7 separate regions of the Homo sapiens genome follow, and regions 2, 3, 4, 5, 6 and 7 are each linked to region 1. Evidence: promoter capture Hi-C in 16 types of primary human blood cells and fetal thymus (Javierre and others, 2016). All regions are on one chromosome and are shown on one strand. Each heading gives the region's core, a stretch centred on a gene start or on the middle of the fragment in contact. The rest is flanking DNA. Distances are from core to core; before and after follow the strand shown. Region 1 holds the start of PAPSS1 (3'-phosphoadenosine 5'-phosphosulfate synthase 1). Region 2 holds the start of CASP6 (caspase 6). Region 3 holds the start of MCUB (mitochondrial calcium uniporter dominant negative subunit beta). Region 4 overlaps SEC24B (SEC24 homolog B, COPII component). Region 5 overlaps SEC24B-AS1 (SEC24B antisense RNA 1). Region 6 has its middle 22 kb from the start of SEC24B. Region 7 overlaps TBCK (TBC1 domain containing kinase).

Evidence for each region. Contacts are between HindIII fragments. The CHiCAGO score rates a contact against its expected background, and 5 or more counts as called.
Region 2: the fragment with the promoter of CASP6 here is called in contact with the fragment with the promoter of PAPSS1 in region 1 in 7 of 17 cell types (activated CD4 T cells, total CD8 T cells, fetal thymus and 4 more); the score reaches 13.3 in activated CD4 T cells.
Region 3: the fragment with the promoter of MCUB here is called in contact with the fragment with the promoter of PAPSS1 in region 1 in 7 of 17 cell types (fetal thymus, activated CD4 T cells, naive CD4 T cells and 4 more); the score reaches 13.2 in fetal thymus.
Region 4: a fragment that was not itself captured here is called in contact with the fragment with the promoter of PAPSS1 in region 1 in 1 of 17 cell types (fetal thymus); the score reaches 7.1 in fetal thymus.
Region 5: a contact is called between a fragment that was not itself captured here and the fragment with the promoter of PAPSS1 in region 1, in 7 of 17 cell types (fetal thymus, non-activated CD4 T cells, activated CD4 T cells and 4 more). The highest score is 12.2, in fetal thymus.
Region 6: a fragment that was not itself captured here is called in contact with the fragment with the promoter of PAPSS1 in region 1 in 1 of 17 cell types (non-activated CD4 T cells); the score reaches 5.4 in non-activated CD4 T cells.
Region 7: a fragment that was not itself captured here is called in contact with the fragment with the promoter of PAPSS1 in region 1 in 4 of 17 cell types (total B cells, naive CD8 T cells, total CD8 T cells and 1 more); the score reaches 6.1 in total B cells.

Annotation. Positions count from the first base shown.
Region 1 is chr4:107,718,789-107,721,599 of GRCh38, reverse strand. It overlaps PAPSS1 (3'-phosphoadenosine 5'-phosphosulfate synthase 1), which reads left to right and starts at 1,366. Exons shown (of 12, transcript NM_005443.5): 1 at 1,366-1,480. The coding sequence starts at 1,421. RefSeq lists enhancers at 1-63, 2,054-2,113 and a silencer at 1,174-1,423. The HindIII fragment of the contact is 5,198 bases long and covers 1-2,811 here.
Region 2 is chr4:109,701,991-109,704,801 of GRCh38, reverse strand. CASP6 (caspase 6) reads left to right here and starts at 1,357. Exons shown (of 7, transcript NM_001226.4): 1 at 1,357-1,446. The coding sequence starts at 1,407. RefSeq lists enhancers at 936-985, 1,876-1,935, 2,696-2,755 and silencers at 1,146-1,435, 1,586-1,695. The HindIII fragment of the contact is 4,197 bases long and covers 1-2,811 here.
Region 3 is chr4:109,558,800-109,561,610 of GRCh38, reverse strand. MCUB (mitochondrial calcium uniporter dominant negative subunit beta) reads right to left here and starts at 1,365. Exons shown (of 8, transcript NM_017918.5): 1 at 1,175-1,365. The coding sequence starts at 1,273. RefSeq lists an enhancer at 479-678 and a silencer at 1,099-1,418. The HindIII fragment of the contact is 4,460 bases long and covers 1-2,027 here.
Region 4 is chr4:109,445,447-109,448,257 of GRCh38, reverse strand. The region is part of intron 1 of SEC24B (SEC24 homolog B, COPII component); the gene reads right to left. Among named protein-coding and RNA genes, the nearest start is that of SEC24B-AS1, 13 kb to the right of the region's middle. The HindIII fragment of the contact is 159 bases long and covers 1,360-1,518 here.
Region 5 is chr4:109,429,102-109,431,912 of GRCh38, reverse strand. It overlaps SEC24B-AS1 (SEC24B antisense RNA 1), which reads left to right. Exons shown (of 3, transcript NR_039978.1): 2 at 167-221; 3 at 1,133-1,950. Among named protein-coding and RNA genes, the nearest start is that of SEC24B, 3.3 kb to the left of the region's middle. The HindIII fragment of the contact is 2,721 bases long and covers 56-2,776 here.
Region 6 is chr4:109,410,580-109,413,390 of GRCh38, reverse strand. No RefSeq gene overlaps it. Among named protein-coding and RNA genes, the nearest start is that of SEC24B, 22 kb to the left of the region's middle. The HindIII fragment of the contact is 221 bases long and covers 1,366-1,586 here.
Region 7 is chr4:106,250,732-106,253,542 of GRCh38, reverse strand. It overlaps TBCK (TBC1 domain containing kinase), which reads left to right. Exons shown (of 26, transcript NM_001163435.3): 6 at 1,536-1,677. Among named protein-coding and RNA genes, the nearest start is that of TBCK, 64 kb to the left of the region's middle. The HindIII fragment of the contact is 1,688 bases long and covers 543-2,230 here.

The DNA.
Region 1 (2,811 bases), core at 117-2,616:
GTCACAGGGGGGCAGAGCTGCAAGCAACTCTTTTGGTGCCAGGGGCAAGCTGCGGAAAAGAGAACTCAGAGTTATGGGGGGTGTGGGGAAGATAACTCCTGGAGGAAACTCTGTCATGCCCCCAGCCCATCCTCCTACGAACTAGCCCTGGAATAATTAGGTGAATTTGAAAATGTCCTCCGTAGGCGGGAGTTCTATTCGGGGTTACCTGCGGCCTCCCCGGTCCTGGATTTCAGTCCTCTAGGTATTTCCTGAGTAGCTCTTAATAATACAGAAGCCCCTTTCCGGTGTAGGTCGGTAAGAAGCACTGCACAGAAATCTGATGCGAAGTGGGGTCTCCTAGCGGAGAGGGAGGCACCTTATAAGTAATCACTAATCCAGGTTGAGATATTAATTATTGATGTCAAGAAATCGGGCTTTTATTATATCTTTTTAAAAACTGTGTCTTGAGGCCAGGCGCTGTCGCTCACGCCTGGAATCCCAGCACTTTGGGAAGCTGAGGCGGGCGGATCATGAGGTCAGGAATTCGAGACCAGCCTGGCCAACATAGTGAAACCCCGTCTCTACTAAAAATACAAAAATTAGCCGGGCGTGGTGGCACACGCCTGTAGTCCCAGCTACTCGGGAGGCTGAGGCAGGAGAATCGCTTGAACCCGGGAGGCAGAGGTTGCGGTGAGCCGAGATCCTACTACTGCACTCCAGCCTGGGCGACAGAGCAAGACTCCGTCTCAAAAAAAGAAAAAAAATTGTGTCTTGAGTAGAATTTTAATGTGGAGAATGAGCTGTTCGGTAAATCAATTCTTCCCTTTGCAAAGCTGTAAAACATTTAAAACATTTGGCCAGGGTGACATGGGCACAGAAGGGGCAGACAGGAGGTCGGCAGCCAGGTCTGTGGAGGAGTAGCCACAGGTGCAAGAGGCCGCGTCAGCGTCCTCCCAATCAGCCTCTGCTGAGGGAGTGCCGCGCGCGGCGAGCCGCGCACTCCCCTTGCCTTTCTCCCGGCGGCTGGTACTCGCTCTTAGAGATCTGCGTTAGCTCAGAGCTAGGCTCGGTGCCGCAGAGGCACCTGAGGTTCCACGACTGCATTCCAGGCCCCGCCCCTTCATCGGGATCTGGAAGGAGGAGCGCCGTGCGCGCCCGCGCCGGCGCGAGCGCTGAAGCTCCGCCCCCAGCTTCTACCTCCGGTTCTATCCCGGCGTTTCGCCCTTCCCCACAGACCTCTGCCCCGGACCCATTTCCGAGGCGCGCCGCATGCGCCGCGCAACCCAGGCCACGAGCACGGGCGCGTGCTTAAGTCAGCGCGCGCCCGCTCCGACGCGAGGAGGCCCCGCCCTCCAGCCCCGCCCCGCTCGCTGGCCTGCCCTCCTCTTGCTACCCTCCCGGCGCAGAGAACCCCGGCTGCTCAGCGCGCTCCGCGGTCATGGAGATCCCCGGGAGCCTGTGCAAGAAAGTCAAACTGAGCAATAACGCGCAGAACTGGGTAAGCTGGGGACGAAGGCGAGACGGCGAGGAGCGGAGGGGCTGTGGGAGCAGCTCGTTCCGGAGCCGCCGCCTCTCTCCCGCCTCCTCCGCATCCATCCTTCCAGGAGCGCGGAGGTGGGTTCCGGGGCTGCGGCGCCTCCCGGCTGGGGCCGTGGGTGGTTGCGAGGCAGAGGGGCGCGGCGCAGGGTGGGGATCTCGCCCTAGCTTGGCGCAGCGTGCGGTCCGAGCCACCGTTCGTGGGAAGAACGCCCCCCCTCCCCAGCGCCTCCGCTCAGGTAAGACCCCCAGGAAAATCCTTCACCCGTGAACTGGCGCTTGCTGAAACCTCCGGGTGCTGAAACCTGCGGCTGCAGAAACAGGAGCTTCCTGCATACCTTGGAGTGGCCTGAAGATGTGCAGAGAAGGCGGAGGCGGGCGCCTTCGACGCGTTCTTGGTTTTTCTTGGCTCTGCCAGTGCGGTTGGCCCAGGTTTGGGTCCATCTCCGTGTCTTTCCATTTCTGAGTTTCAGTGTGAAAGGAGAGTACCCAACAATGTGGTCATTCATGAGTTGAGACTGCCCTGAACTGAGGTTCTTTGTGTCTCTGTGTTAAATCGGAATGTTTAACAAGTAGGAGTTTGGAAGACTCCATTCCTGGTGACAGTCAGGTATGGGACCAGTCCTTTATAACGTTTAGTAATGACTGCCAGTTGACTTTGTAAAGTGCTGTGTCCTCATAACGTTGCTTACTTCCTTAATTTCTCTGTGATGAGAAAGAGCCTTATCTTCCTTTGTAAGTGTGCAGCAGGGAAGGGCCCATCTTTGGAGTCTGGAAAGGCACTGGTTTAAGTTTAGACGGAAACGTTATTTCACAGTCCAATGGAATAATAAGGTTTAAATGCAATGTCTCCCAAAACGTTACTTGCCCTAGATGAATCAAAGAAAAAAAAAACAAGCAATTTCAGGCAAATGTTCTTTGGAAGTCATTAATTTACCACATCTGTTGTTATTGTTATCATGAGTTGTTTACTGATTCCTCTCTCCTTTTATTTAACTCTATAGATGGTAAGGAGGGGAAGGAGATTTAAAAGATGAATTAGAACAGTGGAAAGAGCGCTGGACTCCTGGCCTGGTCTCTCATCCCAGCTTTGCCATTTACTAGCTGTGTGATCTTGAGGAGAGTCACTTTACTTTTTCGAACCTCAGTTGACTTAAGGGTATAATAGTATGTACTTCACGGGATTGTTTTGATGAACAAAGAAGACAGATCATGAATTTGAATGTGCGGTGAAACCACTGCCTTGAAACTCAGACTCAGTTTCGCTTCTCTTACCTTAAGGTGTTTCACGGT
Region 2 (2,811 bases), core at 108-2,607, 2.0 Mb before region 1:
ACCCAGGAGGCAGAGGTTGCAAAAGATCGCACCACTGTACTCCAGCCTTGGTGACAAAGCAAGACTGTCTCAAAAACAAAAGATTGTTGTTTAGTGTAGCTGCCTTTATCAATGATTTTAGCTAGATCTGGATAACCTGATGCAGCTTCTACGTTAGCACCTGCTGCTTCACCTTGCACTTTTATGTCATGAAGATAGTTTCTTTCCTTAAACCTCAGGAACCATCCTCTCTGCTAGCTTCCAGCTTTTCTTTTGCAATTCCCTCACCTCTCTCAGCCTCCATAGAATTGAAGAGTTAGGGCCTTGCTCTGGATTAGGCTTTGGCTTAAGGGAATGTTGTGGCTGTTTTTATCTTCTATCCAGACCAACTAGAACTTTCTCCATATCAGCAATAAGGCTGTTTAGCTTTATTGTCTTTTGTGTGTTTACTGGAGTAGCATTTTTAATTTCCTTCAAAATTTTTTCCTTTGCATTCATGACTTGGCTTTTCTCCTTTGCACTCACAACTTGGCTAACTGGAGCAAGAAGCCTAGCTTTCTGCCTACCAACATTACTTCCTCACTAACTTAATCATGTTTGCTTTTGATTTAAAGTGACAGGCTCTTCCTTTCATTTGGACACTTAGAGGCCTTTGTAGGATTATTAGTTGGCCTAATTTCAAAATTGTGTTTCCAGGAATAGGGAGGCCCCAGGAGGGGGAGAGAGAAGGGAAAGTTCGGTGGAACAGTCCAAACACATACAGGGCTTATGGATTAATTTCCCCTTCCTTTATGAGCGCGGTTCATGGTGCCCCAAAACAATTGCAATAATATTAAAGATTACTGATCACAGATCACAACAGCAGACATAATAACAATGAAAAATTTTGAAATATTGCGAGAGTACCAAAATGTGACACAGAGACACAAAGCGAGCCAATGTTGAAATACAGGCAGTATCTGCTAAGCGGTATAAAACAATCTATGCCTGTACCTCTAGAAAGTACAGGCATAGCAAAGTAAGGAATAGCAAATGTTTGGGGCAGCTGGGATTAAATGAGTCCGAGCTCACACAAGTGATGTGAAATTGCCTCGGGCTAGGCGGTCTGTGTGTCCCCCCGGGTGGCAACTGGCATGTCCCCAGGGCACGGTTAGTCCCAGCGGGCCTGGAGGCGAAGACCGCGTACCTCTCCCTGCCCCCGCGCTCTTGGTCCCCGCGGGCTCCGGAGCGACTGGGAGGAGCTTTAACTCTGGGAAGGACCAGCCCGATCCACGGGAGCCCGGGCGGCGCGCAATCAGAACCAACTGGCCCCACGCTCGGGGGCAGGGGGCGGGGCCGCCGAGGAAGGGCCGAGGGCGGGGCCGGGCCCGGGAGCCTGTGGCTTCAGGAAGAGGAGGGCAAGGTGTCTGGCTGCGCGTTTGGCTGCAATGAGCTCGGCCTCGGGGCTCCGCAGGGGGCACCCGGCAGGTAGGCAGGGGGCGTCGACTGGGCACCGAGCAGGTCTGCGTCTTGCTCCGGCTGGAGGGGAAACGAGGGTTAGTGGACCGGGCGCGCGGACCGGAGTGGGGCCGCGGGTTCCTTCGGCTTTGCAGGGCGGCCTGGAGAAGTTGCACTCTTGGATTGAAGCGCTCAGGGCGGGTGGGGACGGTTTCGCGCTTCAGTCTAAGAAACACTCGGGGACCTGGCTGCCGCCTCCTGGCGGTCCCGAGTAGCGACGCCGGCGCCGGGGCGTGCCCCTGCCGCCTTTGTCCTCCGGGGCGATGAGCGCTTTCGGGGCGCCCCGGCTGTTTAAACCTTAAAAGGCTGTCCCCACGCGGGCCTGGCGTTCCCCCACACCTGGCCGTTTGAAATGTTGGGGGTTGGATCTTTTGTTTGCTCACTTCGAAAAGTGAAAAGGAGGGGTTGTTCCGCCGAGTCATAATGAAAACATAACAGGCCCGCGGGGTGCCCGGGCCAAGACCCTGGGTCCTCCCGGGCTTCAGCTGGAGGCGGCCAGTTCCTGGCGGCCAGCACACCCCGGTATCTCTCTTCTTCATCCAGGAAACCTGCTGCTGTCTGTCGGTTTGAGCCAAAACCACAATAACTTTTTTCTGCAAAGTAATCAACTGCTAAGAGCGTACGTTCTGTCACTTATTACTGGTAAAGTTTAGAAACTTCAAGCCTGGCCAGAGTGAAACAAACAAAAAGGTCGAAACGCCTGCAGTTGGCCGGCCGTGGTGGCTCACGCCTTGTAATCCCAACACTTTGGGAGGCCGAGGCGGGCGGATCACCAGAGGTCGGGAGTTCTCGACCAGCCTAACTAACACGGTGAAACCCCGTCTCTACTAAAAATACAAAAAAATTAGCCAGGCCTGGGCGCAAGCTACTGGGGAGGCTGAGACAAGAGAATCGTTTGAACCCTGGAGGTGGAGGTTGCAGTGAGCCGAGATCGCCCCACTGCACTCCAACCTCGGCGACAGAGTGAGACTTCGAATCAAGAAGAAAAAAAAAAAAAAAGAACGAAACGCCTGCAGTTGGTTAGAGTGCCTTTGTTTAAGAACTCTTTATATTTTGCTGCACAAAGGAAATGGTGCTCCAGAGGCAAGCTGTAAAAGTCACATGGTCGTAGAGGAGGTAGATAGGTAGCCTTGTCCTGGAGGCACAGTGCAGGGTCCAGTTGCAGTCTCTAGGGGCGGGAAGCCGGGGCTTTCCTTCACTCACCTGCTCCCTTCCTCTTCTTCCTCCACCGCACTCCCCAGTGCATGTTCTAGGCCTGATGGAGGTTACTCTACATAGGGTTACTAAATACATTGTTGATGGAGCCGATGGGTAGATTTTCATAGAGAGTGCAGT
Region 3 (2,811 bases), core at 116-2,615, 1.8 Mb before region 1:
CCAATGACTTTATAAGTCTACCATTTTACATTTTAAGGAGTTTGCCCCTGTTCTTACATTTAGTAACAACATGGCCTTCCTCATTCTCTTTCAAACATTCCTGGAATTGATTTTCTGAATGCACTTAATCCTTTGGTCACAAGCTCAATGAAAAGGAAAAAAAAATGCACTTAAATATTCCCTGCATCAATTGAAACTGAAGCCCTCAGACAGCTGGAGGAAAAGGGGGGGAAGGAAAAAAAAGAACAAAATAAACAGGAAGTGAAAGTGACAAGAGAATCACACTGCTTACTTTTTGGCTTTTAAGCCTTTAACAATCTGAAAGTAATCTTAACAGTGTGGGGGAGGAACAAACGAAAACTCAGAAACAGCTCCCTCCCCAACCACACACACCCTGAAGGCTTTGGCTGTCTTTCCTCATCTGGGTCAGAGTTTGCACTCCCGGGCTCCTGTCAGGCTCCATCGCAATCCTCCTTAAACTCAGCGCTTTCCCCTTCTTCTAGTCTTTTTTGGTGCACATCCACTCTCTACTCCTCCAAGCCACGGTTCTCCACAGACCACAATACAACGGTGTCAGGCCAACTGTTACTCACCAGCACACTCATGATTCACCCGTCTCTCGGGTGTCTGAACAAAACGCGAGTTTTTCTTCCTTCTGGGAAAGGGAGGTGCTCGCAGATTTCAGGATGGAAATTTCACTCTCCTGCGACCGTCCACACCCGGGACGGTCACTGCCCCGTTCATCGTTTCCGGGCTCCTTAGGGGCTCGGGCACTGATCACCAAGAGGGAACCGGCCCCGCGGCGCAGCGGCTTTGGAAACTTGCTCCTGACCGAGAGCTGCAGCCCAGAAACTGCCTCCCAGGTTATTCTGCTGCTCCCAGGCCGAAGTCTGGTGGTCCCCGCACCCTATCTCGGCCCGGGTGAGGCACCCCCAGCCGCAGCGCTCTGGCTTCACCTTCCCCGGGCCCGGAGTCTTGACCTCAGCCCAGGCCTCCGTGACCCACGTCGGCCGCCCGGCCACCACCTGTCGGGACCGCCCGGCGCGCGGAGCCCGGCAGCCAGCAAAACGCAGTTGACTGCTCGGCCGCTCGGCTTTTGCTCCCGCCAAAGTTGTCCAACGCAAACTTTGCACCAGCCTACCCCGAACCCCCACAGCCCGGCACCCGCTCTTACCTGGGGCGGAGGCGGCAGCGGCCACGGGCGCGCTGGGCGCCAGGTGCCAGGGGTCGGCAGCAGCCGCGTGCGCCACGGCCAGAGGCCCCTCTGGAGCATCCTCCCGCCCCAGGCGCGCGGCTCCCGCAGGCGTCAGCGGCGCATCCTCCCTCAGCCGGGCTCCTCGTCAGCGCCTGGTGGCTCCGAGCTGTGGGCGCTCCCGCCCCGCCTGCTCGCTCAGCGCGCCGCGGCTCCAGCTTGGGCGGGCTCACGGGAGGGTGTGTCCCTGTTTCCACTTGTCGGCTCTCTACGCATCCGGGCGCAGGGCTGTTTTCTTTCCTCCGACCAAAAAAAAAAAAAAAAAAGAGAGCGAGAGAGCGGGAGCCCGAGAGCGGGAGCCCGAGGTCGAGGGCCCCCTCCTTCTCCAGCAGAAGACCCTCTGGAATGAACAGCAGCAGGCGACGCACACCTTGCGAGCTCTAGATTTCAAAACTCGCTGTTAATTCCCGGTGCTGCGTGCTCTGAGCGCCGTCTTCGCCATCCAACCCAGACGGGGATGAGACGAAAACAGCGTCCGGCATCTGGAGGGGGCAGGGCCGCTCAGGAAGTTTGTTTTCCCCACCGAGCTTGGAGAAGACGGATTGAAGCGGGTCGGCCGAGGCCTCTCCCACCTCCACAACCTCCAAGGCCTCTGCCCCGGGCTGCGGTGCCGGGCCCCTGCTCGCTGGCGAGTGCGGTGTGAGGCGGGCAGCCCGGGCCTACCCCTGCGGAGGTTTGTAGTTCACGGTATAGGGGCCCAAACCCGAGTTTTTTGGGAAAGTATCTCCCACAGAATTGGCTTCTCTTTTGAAGCACGTTTTTAATTGAAGAAGCTTCGGAACCGGTATTGAGTTCTTCTAACTACTGGGAAATCGGATGCTTTGTTTTGAGACTACTTATTTTTGAAAGCAAACCAAAGGCATTAAAGAGCAACCTAAACCAATTACAGTAGGGTTGTTAGATAAAATATAGGATGCCCAGTTAAACTTGAATTTTAGATACAAATAGTGAAGTATGTCCCAAATATTGCATGGGTCACATTTATTATTTTAAAAATGAAATATCTGGGATATACTAAATTATTTGGTGTTTATCTGAATTCAAATTTAACTGGGCACTCCGCATTTTTATCTCCTGAATCTGCAAGAGGGTTCAGTTAATGAATCAAAATTGGCAAACCTGCAATAAGTGGCAAATCACTCCTGGCGGTAATCTCCTTTCCTTATTGAAAAGGGAAAGAATCACAAGTTTCTACTATAGTAAAAACTTTATCACTATTAAAGGCTGATTCACCTGTGTTAACTAGCATGTCTTTCAAAATACAGTTGCCCCAGATGGAGAGTGACACATGAAACTTTAAGTTCATATGGGAAGGTAAATTACCTTACCTGAATCTTTTCCTCCTATTAGCTAGTGCTCCAAGTGAAAGAAGCGTGTATTTTTGTTTTTTTGTTGTGAAGGGTTCTTGTTTAATACAACTGAAAAGAATGCCTATACAAAGAATTGACATGAAAAAGCATTGATTCAACACTCATGAGCTAGGTTCTGAAAGGTGTAAAAAAATTACCTGAACATTTTTAGAAATTGGAAACTACAACTAAAACTGATAAAAATCCCTA
Region 4 (2,811 bases), core at 190-2,689, 1.7 Mb before region 1:
AAAAAAAATTCAAATTATTTAACATGACCAATAAAACATATGTCCATATCCTAATCTCTGAAACTTGTGAATATGTTAGATTACCTGGCAAAGGGGAATTAAGGTTGCACATGGTATTAAGAATGTTAATCAACTGACCTTAAAATAGATTCTTGATTACCCAGGTGAGACCAATATAATCACAAACATCCTTAAGAGCAGAAAAGCAGAGGTAGAAGAGAGTCAGAGGGAGATGTGACTACAGAAGAATTCTCAGACAGATGCAATGTTGCTGGCTTTGAACATGGAGAAAGTGGGCCATGGACCAAGGAATGTGGGCAGCATCCAGAAGCTAGCTGACAAAGGCAAGAAATTAATTCTCCCTTAGATTCTCTAGAAGGGAATGCAGCCCTGTAGATGCCTTGGTTTTAGCTCAGGTGGACTTCTAACCTATAGGTGATAAATTCATGTTGTTTGAAGCCACCAATTTGTGGTCATTTGTTACAGCAGTAAATAGAAAACAATGCAAAGACTCTCCATCATCTGACCTCTGCTTACCACTCCTGCTTTATCACTCACCACCTCTTCATACAATAATTTTCAAGAGGTATGCCTTAATATACTAGTATACTAGTAGTCTTCCACATGCCTCTGCCAACATTTGATCAATAAATAAAATTTAATTTTGCTACACTTAAGATGCTTACTGATATGGTGAAGTCAAATAGAATGCTGAGCTGGTGGGAAAAAAATACTGTTTGCCACAAAAAAGCAAAGAAGCCACAGTACAACATCAACTAAGATTGTATGCTTGAGTTTCACCTCAAGAGGCCCTAAAAGAGGTTCATCAGGGCAGAAGACAGTTTTACTTTAAGCTGTCTTTTAGAGGCTTCTGAAGGGGATCAAGTGAGTATGTGATACCTTTTTTGAAACTTTTTTTTTAATACAAGTGTTCAAAGTGTAATTCCTTTAAGAATGCCACCAAAAATTTTAGCACTAAAGTAGCCATGAGTATGAAAAGGCTGAGAATCACTGTTCTACACACATCCTTATCATGCTAAATTTTTTTCAAGCCATGCTTCTTCACCTCTCAATCTTCAGATAGGCTTTTCCCTGTATATGGAACCTTCCAAAATACCCTCTTCTGCTTCACCTGACCAATTCTTAACTTATTCTTCAGATCTCAGCTCAGCTCTTCTCTAGGAAAACATTCTCTAATCCTACAAGTGAATGCATGCCATTATATAATATTGCTTCCACAGTATTTTGGACCCTTATGACAGAACTTTTCACATGGAACTGTAATTGTCTAATTGTAAATTCTGCAAGTGAAAAAATTCAGTCTAGTTTGCTCTTAGCTCTATCCTATCCCCCAAAGCTTAGTGTAATGGCTGGCTGATGGAAACTATTACTGTATTTTTATAAAATGAAGCCTAGTAAATAATCATCAAGTATTTCTGTATCAGGCACTTATCACAATGTATCAATAAGGAATACTACATGCTACTTAAACACAAAGAACATGAAACTTTAAAAGCTTTCACTATGTAAAATAATTTATACCATAATACAAAAACAGGTCTTTTTTCTGCTTTGGCGTGTTACACTTTTTACCCTGTTCACGTATAAGAAAAGTGTTTTTAACAAAAAGAAATGAAAATCTATCGTATTTCATTATATCTAAGGTGTGTTTTGATACTGCCACTATTTATCTTCACAGGTGTATTAGGTTCCTGCTGCTACTATAACAAAGTACAACAAAGTCAGTGTTTACAACAACACAAATTTATTCTCTTAGAGTTCTGGAGGTCAGAGGTCCAAAATCAGTTTCACTGGGCTACAAAGTGTCAAGGGACAGGGCTGGTTCCCTTTGGACACTCTGAAGAGACAATCCGTTTCCTTGCCTTTTCCAGCTTCTAGTGGCCACTGGTATTCCTTGGCTTGTGGCCCCTTCCATCTCCAAAGCACATCACTCTAACTTCTGCTTCTGTCTTCACATTTCCTTCGCTGCTGGCTCTGACTTGTCCTGTGTCTCTCTAATAAGAACTGCTGTGATTGTATCAGGCCTACCAAGTTCCAGGAAAACCCCATCTCAAGATCCTTAACTTAATCACTGCTGCAAAGGTTTCAGGGATTAGGACATGGACATAGCTGGGGAACCCATTATTCAGCCTACCACATCAGGTATCAATGGCAGATTCTCACACAACTATATTATGATTTCACTTTATGGAAAGCAAGTTTAGAATTCCACTGATTCTAAAATGCACCCCAATTTCAGAGGTAAAAAATGTAAAAAAAAAAAAAAAAAGCATCTTAGAATAAATTAATTTGATTATTGCACTCCCCAAATTGCCCAATACAATGCCTTACATAAGCATCAAATAATCACTGAAAAACTAAAACAGGCTGGGTGCGGTGGCTCACACCTGTGATCCCAGCACTTTGGGAGGCTGAGGCAGGGGGATTGCTTGAGTCCAGGAGTTTGAGACCAGCCCAGGCAACATAGTAAGACTTCATCTCTACAAACATGAAATAAAAAATTACGCAGGTGTGGTGGTTTGTGCCTGTAGTCCCAGTAACTTGGGAGGCTGAGGTGCTAGGCTTGCTTCAGCCCAGGAGATTGAGGCCGCAGTGAGCCAAGATTGCACCACTGCACTCCAGCCTGGGTGACAGAGTGAGACCCTGTCTCAAAAAAATAAATAAAATAAAATAATAAAAATAACAGGCTGGGTGCCGTGGCTCACGCCTGTAATCCCAGCACTTTGGGAGGCTGAGACGGGCGGATCACGAGGTCAGATCGAGACCATCCTGGCTAACACAGTGAAACAC
Region 5 (2,811 bases), core at 167-2,666, 1.7 Mb before region 1:
GCCCATCTTTTTGTCTTATCACAGTTTTCCATAACAGTCTACTCTTCATCAAGCTTGGTATAAAACGCTCAGGTTTCTTCAGGTCTTCGTTTCCTTATGAAGGCTCTGGTGCCATGTAAAACTTACATTAAATATCATACATTCATATGCCTTTCTTTTGTTACAGGAACCCCAGACGCACGGGCCTTGTGCTGTCGCTGCCGTGGCACCCCTTCTAGAAGGTAGATATTTTTCCTCCTGACAAACACTACAACCTTTATGAAAATATTTCACTCTTTTGCTTTAATTTCCATTACTACTATAAGTGAAAAAAGGATGAAGAATTGAATGAATAGGATTGAACCATCTACTAGGCACTGTGCTTGTAAATCTAGATATGTATTTTTTTCTATTTAATCCTAACAATAACTCCATGGGATATTTTTCTTATCCCTATTTTATCTGTGAAGAAACTAATGTTTATAGAGCTGAAGTAATCTTAGTAAAAATCATGAACCTGGAATTAGCAGAACCAGCGGTCAAACCAAGGATTATTTAGCTCCAGACCATTGCTTTACTATAAACTATACTGGGTTAATTTACATTTTTCTTCATAAAGCTATGCTAGTTATGATTTACTGTCTTGCTGTCAAAAGATTTTCAGTTTTTCATATTTAGAATTTGTTCCAGTGTACTCTACAATGGTAGATCTCAGAGTTTTTGAAATGCAGATTTGTGGGCCCAAACCCTGGACCGTATACTGATTCAGAAGTGGTGGAGATAGGGCCCTACAGCAAGCTCTCCAGGCAATTCTGATGCATGGGGAAGTTTGAGGACCACTGCTTTTGAATAGCAGAGTTAAGCTGAATTGGTTCATTCTCTTACTTTGGAAGATGATGGTCCTTTCTTTCAGGACATCTCTTCAATCTTTTACAGACCAATAAAAGTGATATTTTGTAGATTTGTGATTACAGTGTCACAAATGCCAATTATGATGTTTCCTATGTCAACTCAGATTCTCTGAGGTATAGTGTTGATGCAGATGCTGAGGCCAAGTCTGTTCAGTGAGAAAGAGTGGGTAATTGAATTAATCTCTGCTGCATATATGGAAGTGAAATAATACGTGTGTTACTATTTGTCATCCCCAACTTAGGACTCTATTCTCTATAACAGAAGTGGGAGCCTTGGACAACTGAACGCCTATCTCTAGCTCAAGAAATGTCAGCTCTTTTTTTTTTTTTGAGACTGTCACCCAGTCGGGAGTACAGTGGCGCCATCTTGGCTCTCTGTAACCTCCACCTCCTGGGTTCAAGCGATTCTCCTGCCTCAGCCTCCTGAGTAGCTGGGGCTACAGGTATGCACCATCACTCCTGGCTAATTGTTGTATTTTTAGTAGATAATGGGGTTTCACCATGTTGGCCAGGGTGGTCTCAAACTCCTGACCTCAGGTGATCTGCCTGCCTCGGCCTCCCAAAGTGCTGGGATTACAGACGTGAGCCACCATGCCCAGCCAAGAAATGTCAATTCTTTATCGTAGCCTGGCTTTCCATATTTCTCACTAGGGTTTTTATTCTCTAGTTTGTAAATCACATTTGGCGTTTGTAGATCACTCCTTCCCTTTTAGTGGCATTCTCTATTAGGTGTCCATCTCCCAATATGAAGAAACAGTTTTCTGCTTTTTCCTCCTTTATCTGATCCATTTACAGATTTATTACATTTATAATAGGCTAGGTATTGGGGATACAAAAATGAATAAGATATGGTCTGTTTTCAAAGGTATGCAGAAACTTTTCTATATATTCCTACTGACTTGTATTTGTATTTCTTGAATTAAAAACAATCCTGGCTGTGTTTTTTTTTTTTTTTTTTTGCTCTTAGTGAATCTTTGTTTCTTCTTTTCATTATGGCATTCCAGTTGAGTTTCACCACGCATTATCATGAGAATAAATAATTTCACTGACTTTAATAATATTTGATCACTTATGTTGATGTCATTTAACTCTCATTTACATTTCAGTGGTCTAAAACACAACTAAGATACTAAAAGAAAAATAAAAGATGAGATTATTGGCAAATAATTACCACATAGTCAACTCATGAACAATAGTGCATGCACTTACAGGAAATTCTCTGATTGTCACATAAACTATTTGGCTGTTGTTTCAGACATGCTGTAATTTCTGTAGTTAGACACTTAACTAGTCCACAGCAGATTAGAAACTATGAATCACAAGGCAAGGGAAGGAAATGCTGTTAATATAGGTAGTTTGAGAGGAGCAATCTCTATTAGTTGGCAGAATAAGCACAGGAAAAACAAGACAATTAGAAAAATGAATTAAAAATGCACGGTATTCTGACACAATTAGTTACATTGAACAACCCTATGTATTCCACTGGAAATATGATAAACATAGTCCACAAGTCTCTGCCATCTGAGAAATTTATAACCTAGTATTCTGAAGGAAATAAAGTGAAGGGAACTGTCACATACCGAACACCTGCTTTATAACTTGAAAGCGCTTTATGACATCACCATATATCAGGACCAAAACAGATATTCATAGATTTGGTCCTCAATTGCAAAGAAAAATTAAATTATGTTCTGTACTCTGTTTCAGAAGACCAGAGGAATACAGAACCCATTTTGGAACTTTAGAAACTCTTACATATGAACAGGTTAGGTTCCAAAATTTCCATTGTTCGTAAGTCCCAATACTCACAAGTTCGGAGTAAGCCACATATGCATTTCCAGAAAACAGAAAAGTGAGGCAGTCCTTTGAAACTTTAGAACAAAGCTTACTCTTCTTTTTACTGATATAAGTTGTATAGTGG
Region 6 (2,811 bases), core at 227-2,726, 1.7 Mb before region 1:
CTTATCTCTCTTCATGTCCACTCACCTATGGGCCCTTTCCTTTTCTGTCTGTCACTTATATAGCTCATGTTCAAATCCCCTCTTCTCCTCTTCTTAGGCCAGTCTCATAATGTTTCCGACATCTGGTATGGTTTAAAGGAACTCTTGCCTGGAAATAGAAGTTCTTTCCAGACCATGATATAAATTTCTAGTAAAAGCAAATGAATGAATATATAGCAAGAAACAACAATTCACAAGGAAGTTGCCCTGGAAGTGGGCTGTTGTAGTAAAAGGAGGCATTTGCCTGTTACTGAGTCCCAATAGCCTGATCACTCTTGCCCAATCAGGAACTTTCTGTCACATTGTGCTGTTTGCCATTGCAGTGCTCAGCAGACTGAGGATTACAGTATGTGCATTGGCACTTGTTATACAGCAAGTGCAAACAGCTGGGTTTCTTGCTGTTCATGAGTGCCAAGATATTATTCCTCATAAGACTTTTTAACTGCTTTTGCAGTTAGTAACATCAGTGCCTGGGAAATCAAACATTTTATCTAGTGGTTTGTTAACTTAATGCTATTTTCCAGATGTTTTTTAGGGCTGTTCCTCCAATGTTGATTTGTGGTGGCGTTGATATTTTCTTTCTATAGCATTTTATTATTTTTGAGCAGTGATATTTAATTTAGTTTGGGGAAATGTCTTTTCCAAACTTTTGTTTCTGATGACACACAGTTATTTTGAATCTTGTGTCAATCCCACAAACTACAGGACTTGGCCTGATTATAGACATGACTAGACAAAAGAAGCTCTAGAAGAGCTGCCACACCAGACTTTCACTTTTATTGAGGTTACCACTCACACTGATAGATTACAGGCCCATGGCATTTTAGAGTCAGAGACATTCTTTACTCAGATCCCCTCTTTATTCACAACAAAATAACTGGAACTTATAGATGTCAAATAATTTTACCTTAGCCCACACAGCTAGCTGTTAGTAAAATCAGAACTATGACCAGATCTCCTAGGTACAGGGGAGAGGAAACCTTTTTTCCATGCTTCTCACCTGGAGGCGTATGTGTGAATCCCCTTACCCCCTTTAGTGGCCTGAGGATTCATTCATTGGCAAAGAAGTCTCCTGACAGCATTTTGAAGAGGCAGAACAAACTCCTGCTGCCAGTCTACAGGAGCCATCACTCTTTCCCAGTGAGCAGCTGGCATGTGGCCAGCCTTCCCTTTCTGCAGCTTGGACTGCTAAAGTATCACGTGGATGGAGCAGCTCTGTGCAAAGCCACTTTTCCAGAACTGTTTCCATGTCTCCACTCCCCAATCCATCCTTCTCCCCACAAGCTCTCTCCTACCACACAAACACACCAAGGGCCTCTTAAAGCTTTCTCCATCCATAGTGAGAGAGAGAGGGGGGAAAGAATCAAGTTTGGTATGCTGGAACATACATGTGAGGCAGAAAAGTTCTGAAAGTTGAGAGCAGCTTATAAATAACTCAGGTTAGATGTTGCCGATGATGGGAAGTATATATAGGAAACACCATCATTTAAAAAATGTATTCTTTGAAAATGAAGAATGACAGCATACAGACCAAACTCCCAAAAGCTTAACAGAAATTCTCATAAAACTGTAGGTAGACTTACATTATATTACACAAATTTTAAACTCTGGATCTGGGCCGAAAACATCACCTGCTTTAGGTCTTCAAATAGACACTTAAGAGCTATGGAATAGTACAATTGACCGGGAAAACACTTTAAGATTTGGTTGTAATCTACAGACTGTCAGCTTAGGGGTAACTGGTAAAGTAATTTGTGCTCTCCTTTTGTCCATTTTAATTGATGATATTCCTCTGCAGCAAGCCTTACAGGAGAAATCGAAACACAGCTGCTACATTGTAAGTCCACAAGTGAAATAAGCAGTGTCCAGTGGATAACAAGAAGGCTCCCAGAATAGCTCCTCAAAAAATCTGCCTTCTTCCTTTACTACCAAGAATCCTAACCTGTAGGCTCAAAGATGATTCAAACATTGAGGGCAGTGGTACTTGGGATTCAAAGGCACATTGGTGCAGAAAGGAGCCCATAGCATGCTGTTGACAATTTGACCAGGTGAGTCAACAATAGCAAAGAAGGCCTAGAATATGAGCTTTGAAATCCGAGTGCAAAGTCACCCCTACGAGAATATACCTGATTTATTTTGTTTGATTATATTGACACTTTTGCTATTTGTCATCATTTCAGCATGCATGCACTTAGATTTGTTAGTCCCACTGTCCTGTAACATCTCCCAATCCAGAACACATTAATGATCAGTAGACTGTGGCTGTCCAGTTTGGTGTCACCTTTAAGGGGCTCCTCTCTCCACGTAGGCCAGGCAAGACTTCACTGCACATTTACAGAACAAGGACCTTCTGTCTCAGATGCCTGACTCACCAGCTCCACTGCCCTGCATTCCGTTCTCTCACTCTCTTGGCTTCCAGTGTTGTTGCCAGTGGTTTGGGTCCTCACCCTACTCTTTCACCTCAATGCTTAATATAGCCATGTTTGGCTTTTGAATTTGCTTTTCCTCTCATCTACATTTTCATCTCTCCACCGTGGCTTGAAGTAATCACAATTTTGGGATAACAAAGCCATTCTATGCTTGGCTTTGGTCAGTCCCTAGAATTTACCAAGTCACAGCCAGGTGAGGTGGCTCACGCCTATAATCCCAGCACTTTGGGAGGCCAAGGCGGGCGGATCATAAGGTCAGGAGTTCAAGACCAGCCTGGCCAACATGTGAAACCCCGTCTCTACTAAAAATACAAAAATTAGCTGGGCGTGCCGCCTGTAATCC
Region 7 (2,811 bases), core at 137-2,636, 1.5 Mb after region 1:
TCGTTTTGAAAAACATTTGGCATTGTGTAATGAAGTAGAAAGTGCACATATCCTATGGCTTAGAAATTTGGGTCTAGGTTGTTAACCTTGGGAACCTTTTGCAGATGTATACCATACATGGCATTCTGTGCAACGTTGTTCATAATGTTAATAATAAAAAGCAGGAAACAGCCTAAATGCCATTGCCATTTGAATGTATAAATAATGTTATGTTCATATAATAGAAATAAGAATTTAATGGATATAGCTTCATCCAACAATATAGATAATCTTGATTGAAAGAGCAAAAGAATACAGTCATCCTAATTCCAGTGTTATAAAGTTCAGAAATATGCTTGACTAAACAGTACATTTTTTAGGGATACAAACATGGTAAAACCATCAGGAAATGGAAGAGAATGACAAACACAAAAATTCCAGGTGTCTTCTCTGGAGGAACAGGGGTGGAGATACAATCAGGGAGAAGCACAAAGGGACTTTTGGTGATAATTTTATGTTCTTCACTTAAACTGCTTCTTGGTACATGGGTGTTCATTGAAGCTTTCTTCTTTATGCCTTATTCATATTTAATAGGCAGTGTTTTGCATTTATTCAATATTTGCTAAACCGGTTTTCAAAAAACGTTTTATGTCAGTGAAGTTGTGAGGAAATAGGCACCCTCATGTATTACTTATGACAATATAAATTGATACAACCTCCCCAAAGGGCAACTTGGTGTGGTAAATCAAAATTTAAAATGCACATACCTTACGATCTTGGAATGCCACTTCTAAGAATATATCTGTCATTTATATGCATATACTTGTGGGATATGTAATAGTCATAATATATTCATCTCATTATTGGTAATAGCAAAAGAATGGAAGTTCCAAAATGTTTTTGTTTCATCAAATTAAGTACATCAATGAAATTATTGGGAGTTTTCAAAAAGAATGAGGAAACTCTATACTTGTGTTTTTAAAGAACAATCTCTAAAATACACTTTAAGTGGAAAAAAGGTATATAGCAATATGTATAGTATTCCACCATGTGGGGCAGAGGTGATGGGTGGACAAAGTTATATATACATAAATATGTATGGATGACAGGGGTGTAGAGATAGGAGTTTTACTTTTCAATTTGTATCTTTTTTATAGCATTAACATTCTTACTACTAAAAATAAATACTTTTTTAAAAGATAAAATGCACTTTAAATATTAATTCAGCGTTAAGGGAAGATAGGCAATAAGAAGGAAGGAAAAACACTTGGAAGCCTAGAGGACTGTGTTAAAAACACAGAGAGAAGCAAATAAAGGAGCTAATGCTGGAGGGAGACATGAAGGTTTTAAAACTATTTCAGACTTGTGTATATTTTCTCTTGATTCCTTGACATTAAAGTTCTGTATTATGATGGTTAGTTTAGAATGCTTTCTAGCAACAGTTGTTAATTTAATTGCATGAGACTTTTACATAGATCTTACCACATTGATTGTAAAAATGTACTATCGCTTCTTTCCCTGTTGTAATTTTTCATTATTTTAATGTATCATTACAGGTATCCCTCGTACTTGGCCCCTGAGGTAATTGCACAGGGAATTTTCAAAACCACTGATCACATGCCAAGTAAAAAACCATTGCCTTCTGGCCCCAAATCAGATGTATGGTCTCTTGGAATCATTTTATTTGAGCTTTGTGTGGTATGTATAAAGAAATATTAATATAATAAAAGGAAATTGTGCATTTATTGGAATAATCTTTTGGAGAGGAAAGTTAATAATAGTATGTTTTTGCTGTACAAATTAATTACATATGAGGAGAAAAGGCTTAATTTGACTTAATCATGTTTGATAATTTCACATATTTTTTGGCATCTCTGGAAACATACTTTTACTAAGTGTGAATGTAAATGTTACCAGATATATATTATTTTGATATCTCTATAATGTGTATATTTTTACAAAGTTAAGATGTTTATATTAAGTTATATAAGATATATGGAGTACCATTAAAAGTTTAACAAGATATTGAAATGAAAACTACGTTTTTAGAAGATTGATATGACAGTAATGTAAGATTGAGAAGAATAGCAGCTTTTTTTCAATGAACTCTACCTGTAGTTCTGATTTGGTAAGTGTTTAAGAACATTTTTTCTTCTCTATTAAAAAAAAATCAAAGCATCTCTTTTTTCTATAAACACCAGGTAATCTTAAGCCTTTTCCTTCTAAGTTTATTTAAATGATCATATAAGCTTAATTTGTTTATGATAAGAGAAATATAATGATAGCCAACATTAATGAAGCATATTCTGCATTACATAACCCTCACCATAACCTGTGGTATATGTACAGTTAATATTTTAATTTTACAGATGAGAAAAGTGAAACTTCAGGTGGTATTAAGTAGTTTGCCAAATTTATATAACTATTTGATGGTGGAAGAGTCCAATTTGGCACACAATCATTGCTCAACTCATAAATGCTGAAGGTATAAGTGTTTGACTCCAGACCTTATACTAAGGAGCCTCCTGAGGCAGACTAGTAAGGAAATAATTAAAATATAATGTGTGCATCTTAAAATATACCAGGTGCTGTAGGAGCATGAAGGATGGCTGTCTGAAGTTATTGTGGTAAGAGGAAGGAGTGTTATGAAGTTTTTTTAATGGAGAAACAGACTAACCGAATCATGATATTTAAGTAAGAATTAGCTCGGTAGGCGAAAGAGTATAATCAGTCTTACCCAGGAGGCATCTTGGTCTCAATAAAGTAAGACTCCATATGGCCTGGAATACATCTAGATATCCAGGTATGTGTGGATCTCAAAAGTGAACAATG